Linked DNA regions of Homo sapiens: regions 1 and 2 are each linked to region 3. Evidence: promoter capture Hi-C in 16 types of primary human blood cells and fetal thymus (Javierre and others, 2016). All regions are on one chromosome and are shown on one strand. Each heading gives the region's core, a stretch centred on a gene start or on the middle of the fragment in contact. The rest is flanking DNA. Distances are from core to core; before and after follow the strand shown. Region 1 overlaps NCOA7 (nuclear receptor coactivator 7). Region 2 has its middle 14 kb from the start of TRE-CTC1-7. Region 3 holds the start of RNF217 (ring finger protein 217).

Region 1 (2,962 bases), core at 58-2,557, 830 kb after region 3:
CTTTCTGTAATATGTCATCAAGGTTATGAGGTAATTCTCCCCAACTCTTAAGTTCATTTCATGTCTAAGCTTGCAAAATTTCCAGTCTCACTGGTAATCATGCCAACTTCAACTGTGCTCTCAAACACAATTTAAAAAGTAAAAGTCGTGTTTTAAAGAAAATTGTAAGTTACGCCAGAGGAAACAATGATTTGGTTAATAAGTGATGTATTCACTTATTTTAGAGTTGAGTTTTTCAGGTTTGATCTAATTATCATGTCTTTTATCACAGGCAAAAGTAGAAATAAAACATGTAGAAGTGTCTGTGATTCTTAAATGATTCAAAATGTGTGATATAGATACACAATTTAAACTGTTTTCTCCTCGGTATAGAAACACATCAGTTTCCAAATTTGACAGCCAGGGGATTGTGAAATGAGGGTTTGCAAGATACAGTGTCTTCCTGCTTTAAAATGTTATATCATTTTGAAAAAAAAAAAGAAAAACAAGGTTAACTGCATCAAACTTTATTTGCTTTATTTTTACACTATGACATTTTCTGTTTTGATTTCATCTTTTTTCCATCACATGAATTTCATGAGTCAGTGTGAACTTCTTTCAGTCTCTGCTTAACAATATTATCTGGGCATGCTCCCAGGTTTTCTTTCTGACATTTTAATGCATCTTTACCATCTTCACTTCATATTACTCAAATGACTTATTTTTACACAATATGGTAGGCCATACTTTATTACTATTGCTTCTCCAACCTACTTATTTTCTTCCTAGATGGATAAGGAAATAAAACTTTCCTATAAAAGTTAATAAGACTGCAGGAACCAACAGTGGGAGGGAACTTATGAAAAAAATTAATTTGTTATGATTTATTAAAACAAAGCCAAAATTCCCTCCTGTAATAAAGATAATTACATTTTACACTTCTTAAATTTGTAACCCAGGGTATTGAGCAATTAATTTACCTGGCTCTTCCTTGCACACTTTAAGCTTTTCAAAAAAGCCCTCCCCTTTGGTTACAGTAAGCTCTCTTTACCTTGTTACTTATAAGCACTTATTTGTTCATTTTACAAGTAGGAGTTGAGCCTTTAACTGCTCAGTTTAACTGCTATTACTTTGGCTTTGGAATCACAGTCAAATAAAAGCTCTAATCTCAGATTTGAAGAGGTATTTTTCTCTTCTGTGTGTCCTACAACCAAATGCGCAGTGCCTCTGGGATTGGTTGACTCACTTTTGGGTCCTACCTCCTGATCCCCCAGCACTCCGCCCCCACAAGCACCACCAGAATGCAATCCAAGACCTGGATTTCCTCTCTTTATCTTCCTAAAGGCTGTATTTTAGAAACCTCTATTCCTTTCTTGCTAAATGCCATTTACTATTGTTTTTAAAATCCCAGCCCATAATTTTTTGTTTGTTTAAATTCAACAGGATCCACTCAATTCACTTGTGCTAAAATCAGAATTGTTGATTGCAGAAAAAAATATACAGAAGTAAATTTGTATGACCTTGAATTTCAGATATAGTGAATACATAAAGAGTGATTGTTGTCTACTGGTCTCCCCTCAACAGTGATACAAAATGCATTTGTTTCTGTACATGCCAGAGAATATGAATTTTCTGTTGCTAAATTTGATCAGAAGCTTAATTGAGAGAAATGATGTTTACGGGGGGTTGGCTGAACAAAGGCCATGACGTCAACCTATTCCCTTCCAATACTAGCTGTTAGACCAGAAGTCTAGCCAGATCTTCAGAAGCTGTACTTTGGTACCTTGTTTTGCATCCTTAACACCCCCCCATATGCCCACACTGAGGGATTTTATTAATACAGTCAGAGGAAACTTACTATTATGTTACTTTCGAAATGTGGTTATGATCATGGTACTTTCTATAGTTTCTGTTTGAAGACTCATGCAAGAAATTCCATTTAACTTTAAATGCCAAAGAAAAGCTTTACTTACCCTGAACAACTTGTGTGTGTGTGTTTGTGTGTGTTCTTTTCATCATGCAAAATGAGAATCAAATCATTGATTATATTTCCCTTTCTAACTTGGCAACTAGGAAATGAACAAATTTGCAACTCAATTTTAATAATCATATAAAAATTCATAACCTAATATCAATATTTTATCTTTTCCTATGGTCTTGAGCTTCTGTTCTACCTTGTTTTTCTTGATTCTGATGTTTATCTAATTATACTTTTCCATTTGATTGAATTATATTCTTTTAAGATGACTCATATCCTTTGTGGAACAAGGCAGATTATAAAACATAAAACCAAATAAATGAAGCCATTGCACAATTGATCTCTGGACACAGTATGTTTTTGATGAACAAGTTTAATGGGTTACATTAAATGTTTTGAACAAGAATTGCAAATTTAGTACATTTGAACTTAGCCAAATGGAAAACAATGTTACATAGTTTTACAAAACTTTTTTTTAAACTCTTACATTTATATTCACTCATTACTAATTTGAAATTAATAAAGCCATTCAATTTAAGTCAATTATATTTGGAGTACCTGCCTTAAACGCTATATAGGTTGAACAGGAGTTTCAATAGAATAAAGTCATTTTTAGCTGAAGGGCTAGCCTAACTTAGCATAACACTCACCAGAGTGAATCGACAATCTGACCTTCGCGTCAGTGATTCATGTGATTTATCCTTGTTTTAATAAATCAGAGTCTTCTCTGAGCCTCTTTTATTTACCATGAAATTTAAAAGATTGAGCTCCTGGAGTTAATTCTTCATACTGATGTTTTGACACCTAATTGTTAAGTTGGTTGAATTTACCCAGGTAACTCATTATTTACATCGACATGATAAGTTAGGCTTGATATATTTATCACCACAGTAAGCAGAAAGATTGGCCTTTCTCAAGGGTCAGTCATTGGTACAGTCTGGTAGCCTTTGGCATAAAAATGATCTGAATTCAAAAGTGCAACTTAAAACATAAGAGGGGGTTTGG
Region 2 (3,115 bases), core at 14-2,513, 800 kb after region 3:
GGTTCTCTAGGCATGAGGTGGTGCTTTTTCCCATGGCTCCCTTACTTCTAACTTCAAAGGAAAGGAAAGGAAGTGGTCAGGGAATCTGCTCTGACTGTGGGAACCAGTACCCACTGTAAGGTGCAGGTCTGAAAAAGAAAATCAATTATGATACTAACTGCTAATACTGGTCAGTTGTTCTCTATACTAAGCCCCATGCTAAGTGCTTGAAATCTGTTTCTTCATTTAAGCCTCATAACTGTCCTGTAGAGTAGATAATAGTTTACTTACTTACATATTAGGAATTGGAGAATAAAGCTTAATTGTCCAAGGCCATTCCTAGCAGGTTGAGCTTTGAGTTAAACTATCTGAAAACTATCTGATACTTAAATTCATACTTTTGACCTCTAGGCTGTGGCTTTTGACACTGCTTTTTTGGTCTCAGAGTTATCCAGACTCCCCCAGGATTTCAGCCTGCCTAGGATCAGTTTGGACTAAAGATGACAGTAAATCCAGCTACAGTATTATCGTAAAACCACTTCCATCTCACTCTTTTAATATATGAAAGGATGAAAAAAGGAATAACTCCACTTTATAATGCAACATAAAAGGGAAATTATTTTTGGCAGTTCTCTAGTTTTAACTCAACTTTCAATCAAGTCACACGTATCTTTTCTTCATCTATGAGCTTAATCTTTAAAGGCTACCAAAGAAAATTCTATCATCTCACTCAAAGTGGTTGACAAAGGTGTGGCAAAATGGTGAAGTATTAAGGTACTAAGCAAATTGAGTTTGAAAAAAAAAATCATTTCCAATCTTCCATATCTAAAAGATAAGAAATTGTTGTTGTTGTTGTTTAGGGAGAATGCTGGATTATTCTGAATGTTTATACACCATAGGTCCATATGCCATAAAACAAAATTCTTCATTTGACCTATGAAGACCTGTCCAGTAACCCATTCACTTTAATAATTCTTGTTATCAGAAAGGGCCTTTTAACTGACCTAACTCTTCAGCCTAGAGTTAAAGAATGTTTTTGATAGCAGTTAACAGTTAATACGTGTATAATTTTTCAAAAATCTTATGCCCAGAGACGTTTTTAGATGCCTCTAAGTTCTTAGCCTTCTATAAATATCTGGTTTTCTTGACCTTTGTTGTCATTCTGTTAGTGTGTGGAAATGAAGAGATTCATGCATATGAAGTGTGACATGGATGTAACAGAATGTATTATAAGTTTTTTTAAGGGGTAGAAAGAGGTTGAATAACCTTGGCACTTAACTCTAAAGTTTCTTGTATCAAGTTTGCATTGTAAGTCTTGTGTTTTCATTACAATGAAAACAAAGTCACATTTTCTCATGCAGAAGAAAAAGTATTTTGCAAAGAATGGCTATTATTCGTAATGTTTTACTTGTATAAGTGTAGTAATAAATTATGACTCTGAACACAAATGAATATCTTAGTTGCATTAACCCCTCCTTTCCTGATTATAAGCTATCAAGATGAACAGGATTTACCTTCCTAGGTCTTTCAGCACTTCTTTTTTAACCTTTTTCCTTAATTGCAGAGAACCTAAAGACTTTTTTTTTTCTTTTTCCACCAAAACAATGTGCCTGGAGCTTTGCATAGCTCTGTTTGGGTAGACTTTCCCTTATGCCAGCAATGACTGGCTTCTTTCCCTGTCCTAACCAGTCTGTCCCAGCACAGCTGCATCAAATTGGCTTGTCTGGGATCTGGCAAGATGATGGAGACGTGTTTGCAGTCATGAGGGCAAAACACAGAGGCACATAGACCATGACTCTCATGATAACACATTTCTGTCCCAGGCACAAGCCACTCTTAAATGAGAACTAAGCCAGTCACATTTTGATCTTACAAGCAGCCACTGTTAGATTTATTTTATTGTTTTGACATCTTTCTGACAATGAAAACATAAGCATAAAATAGTACAAATGGTTGGGTGTGGTAACTCATGAAAACTCACGTGCAAGCCGAGCACACATGTGCCTGTAGTTCCAAGTACATGGGAGGCTGAGGCAGGAGGATCATTTGAGTCAGGTGTTCAAGGCTGCAATGAGCTATGATTATGCCACTGTGCTCCAGCCTGGGTGACAGAGGGAGGTCCCATCTCAAAAACAAAAACCAAAAAGACCTGTGCAAGCTGGTGACCATCAGATAAGCGAGATGAGGGTATGGCCAAGCTCAGGGGAAAAACCTTGCCTGTGGTAACACGTCTTTTACTGATACTTGGAAGGAAGCTTGAGAGGCTGTTGGGCCCATCTGAAATATATTCATGAGTCCATCACTGCTAAATCATTAAACAGATTTAAGGCATATGTGTTGCATCAAGAGAATAGGCTTAAAACACCAAGTGCCTCCTGACCAAGATGATCATGGGAAACGAGTCTCAGTGCTCAACCCATGAATTATCTGGCCACACTGACCATTTCTCATACCAGAGATACTTTTTTGATGCGATCCTCAAACCCCAAGGATTCCCAAGAGTGGGAGCCACAGACAAAACAACACAGGAACAATAATTCGATATAAATGCATTTAGCCACTTCTCCAAACACCAAGATGCAGCAGACAAGACAATCCCTTTGCTCTGGATATCAGGAGCTTGGACAAAAGAAGAAACAAAGTTCACAAATTGTTTGTCTTTAGGATATGACACAGTGAGAGAAGTGGTGAAAGTTATTTGTTTGTTATGCTTAAATGTATAGTTTAAGAGTTAAAATTCCGGCCTGGCGCAGTGGCTCATGCCTGTAATCCCAGCACTTAGGGAGGCCGAGGTGGACGGATCACAAGGTCAGGAGTTTGAGACCATCCTGGCTCACACAATGAAACCCCATCTCTACTAAAAGTACAAAAATTAGCCAGGCGTGGTGGCAGGCACCTGTAGTCCCAGCTACTTGGGAGGTTGAGGCAGGAGAATCACTTGAACCCAGGAGGTGGAGGATGCAGTGAGTCGAGATCACGCCACTGCACTCCAGCCTGGGCAACAAAGCGAGACTCCATCTCAAAAAAAAAAAAAAAATTGTGTAAGTGTATATTTTCTACTGATACAGTAAAGACATTAACAAGGAAGTTGTTTGCTTAATAATACAGCAACTTCACAGCCATATCTAGGAAAATG
Region 3 (2,861 bases), core at 138-2,637:
CACTGCTTTCTTAGTTTGCATCGCTAGTCACCTTTGTATCATTTGCATCTGATTTGGAAAATATTTTAGAACAACCCAATAACAACTTCGAGATTAAAAAATAAAATTCTACACACTTTACAGTTCCTTGCTATTACATGAATGTGTAAATTGAATTCCCTCTCAGGAGAAAAAAAACAAAACAAGGGCTGGCTTCCCAAAAATGTTTTCACTGGCTTTAGGGAACTAAAACACCAGTGTCTGGGTGAGTAATACTTCCTGTAAAATAAAGATAGATCAACACATAATTAAGTCCTGGCTCACATATAATTGTTGTTTTGGAAACAGTTTTGAGGATAAATATGGTTATGCTAATGAAACTGCCCATGATTTCCACTAATGATCCAGTTTATTAATTAGGTCAGGACATTTTTCCACCTTGTGCTATCCATTTTGGAATGCTGAAAAGGGTTAAAAAAAAAAACTTCTAAGAGAACACTGTAGGCGAAGAAAAAGAGAGAAATTTTAAATTAGTTATCAACTCTTCTAAGGATTCCAGTTGGAGGAGTAGATCGAAAGTGCTTTTTCGATTATTTATGGGTTTCGAAGATTCTTCCTACTCCACTAGGCAGAAAAACAGAGTTGTAATATACAGCATTTAGAATTCATAATCCTTAGCATTATTTCTCTGAACTCGACATCCTAAATAGCCAGCGTTTACTAATTCCAGAGCTGAGTGTAGTTTTGTAGGAAGTTCTACTGAATGCGGAGACCAAAGGGGAGCCTGCCTGCTCTGAGGGTTTTGTTGAGGCTGAGTGTGAACTCCGGGCGAGAAAGCGCATCTCAGCTCTTAGATCACACCCACTCAGGGTGTGCGTGTGTGTGTGCGCGGGTGCCTGCGCGCGTGTGTACGTGTGGGGAGGTGTGCGCCAAAGGGGTGGGGTGAGGGGCGGCGAGGAGGGCTGTAGGTGAAGCGCGGGGAGAGGGAGGTCGCCCGCTCCGGCCTCTCCCCCAGGGGCCCTGCGGCTGGCCAGCGCTCCGGCTGCACCTCCTGGTGCGCGCCGCGGCGGCGCCACAGGCCCCTCGACCCTTTGACCACCGCCCTCGGGCCGCGCGTCCGGCAGCCGGGACCGGTGATGGCGCGGGACTGACGGCCGTCTCCTCCCAGACCCCTCTGTCCCGCCTGGGGCTCGCTGGGGCTGCGGCGCCGCCCCGAGCTGCATGTGGGGCGGGCGCGCCCGAGCCCAGAGCGAGCGGCCCTCGGCGCCCCCGAGGCGGTGCCCCGCCGCGCCAGAGTACGAGGAGGAGCGGCGGGCCGGGCCAGGCTCCCCACGCGCCGCAGCCTCGGAGCACGGGCTCCCCGGAGGGGACTTGGGGCGTCCCAGCCCAGGAGGAAGGACCCGGAAGCAGAAGCGGAGCCGCGAGTCGAGCCGAGCCACTGCCCCCGCTGCCCGCGGGCGCCGGGTGGGGGTCCCGGCGGCTGGATGGGCAGCGGCGGCGCGGGCCGCGGGCGGCGATGGGCGAGGAGCAGAGCACGGTGAGCGGCGGCGGCGGGCCCCAGGAGTCGCAGACCCTGGCCAGTGGCACTGCGGGCCACCCTGAGCCCCCGAGGCCTCAGGGGGACAGCGCCCGGGCGCCCCCGCTGCGCGCCGCCTCCGCGGAGCCGAGCGGCGGTGGCTGCGGAAGCGACTGGGGCTGCGCGGACACCAGCGCCCCAGAGCCCGCGAGGAGCCTGGGGCCCCCGGGCTGGAGTAAGAGCCGAGCACCGGCGCAGCCTGCGGGACTGGCACTCACCGGGCCTCTCAATCCCCAGACCTTGCCACTGCAGTTGGAGCTGGAGGAGGAAGAGGAGGAAGCTGGGGATCGAAAAGAGGGAGGGGATGAACAGCAGGAGGCGCCCCCCGGCGAAGAGCTGGAGCCCAGGACCCGCGTGGGGGCCGCCGACGGACTGGTCCTGGACGTGCTGGGTCAGCGGCGCCCGTCCCTCGCCAAGAGACAAGTCTTCTGCTCCGTGTACTGCGTGGAGAGCGACCTGCCCGAGGCCCCCGCCTCGGAGCAGCTCTCGCCGCCCGCGTCGCCACCTGGGGCTCCGCCAGTGTTGAACCCTCCCAGCACCCGCTCTTCCTTCCCCAGCCCCCGACTGTCCCTCCCAACGGATTCCCTCTCCCCCGACGGCGGCAGCATCGAGCTGGAGTTCTACCTGGCGCCCGAGCCGTTCTCCATGCCCAGCCTGTTGGGAGCTCCACCCTACTCTGGCCTGGGCGGTGTAGGGGATCCCTATGTGCCCCTCATGGTGCTGATGTGCCGGGTGTGCCTGGAAGACAAGCCCATCAAGCCCCTGCCTTGCTGCAAGAAGGCCGTGTGCGAGGAGTGCCTCAAAGTCTACCTGAGCGCCCAGGTAACTTCACCCCCTTCTCTTCCCCATTTATCATTCCAAATCACTGGCGAGGAGGTCCTGCTCTCGATCTGATCTCCCTGCTCGCGCGAAGAGGTGACCGACACACTTACTGAGGATCTCTGTTAGTTTCTCACGTCTCAGTTGTTATTTAAGTGTATTATGACCTCACTGGTTTACTTAACTGGAATTTAACTTTGCTGTGAACTTCAGGCTATGGTTGGCATGTGTAGAAGGCACAAGATACAAGTTGTTGCCCTCCTCTTATTTCTTATACAGGATTGCAAGCACAAGCTTGCTCAAAGGAGGAGAGGAAGAGACTGCCTCATCGGCCTGGTATCCCAGAAACTAACAAGCAGTGGGCATAGAATAAATATTTATGGAGCTGGTGGAGAAAAGAATTGGAATAAATATTTCAGACCCATAATACATGAATTTGTAATTTTGCTTCATTTGTATATTCCAGGAAAGAGTGAATGTTTAAAAA

Evidence for each region. Contacts are between HindIII fragments. The CHiCAGO score rates a contact against its expected background, and 5 or more counts as called.
Region 1: a contact is called between a fragment that was not itself captured here and the fragment with the promoter of RNF217 in region 3, in 1 of 17 cell types (M0 macrophages). The highest score is 5.2, in M0 macrophages.
Region 2: a fragment that was not itself captured here is called in contact with the fragment with the promoter of RNF217 in region 3 in 3 of 17 cell types (M1 macrophages, M0 macrophages and M2 macrophages); the score reaches 9.4 in M1 macrophages.

Annotation. Positions count from the first base shown.
Region 1 is chr6:125,792,311-125,795,272 of GRCh38, forward strand. All of the region lies in intron 1 of NCOA7 (nuclear receptor coactivator 7), which reads left to right. Among named protein-coding and RNA genes, the nearest start is that of NCOA7, 2.8 kb to the left of the region's middle. The HindIII fragment of the contact is 650 bases long and covers 983-1,632 here.
Region 2 is chr6:125,764,443-125,767,557 of GRCh38, forward strand. No RefSeq gene overlaps it. Among named protein-coding and RNA genes, the nearest start is that of TRE-CTC1-7, 14 kb to the right of the region's middle. The HindIII fragment of the contact is 1,937 bases long and covers 296-2,232 here.
Region 3 is chr6:124,961,050-124,963,910 of GRCh38, forward strand. RNF217 (ring finger protein 217) reads left to right here and starts at 1,388. Exons shown (of 6, transcript NM_001286398.3): 1 at 1,388-2,377. The coding sequence starts at 1,496. It overlaps RNF217-AS1 (RNF217 antisense RNA 1), which reads right to left and starts at 1,978. Exons shown (of 7, transcript NR_026876.1): 1 at 1,774-1,978. The HindIII fragment of the contact is 3,639 bases long and covers 1-2,666 here.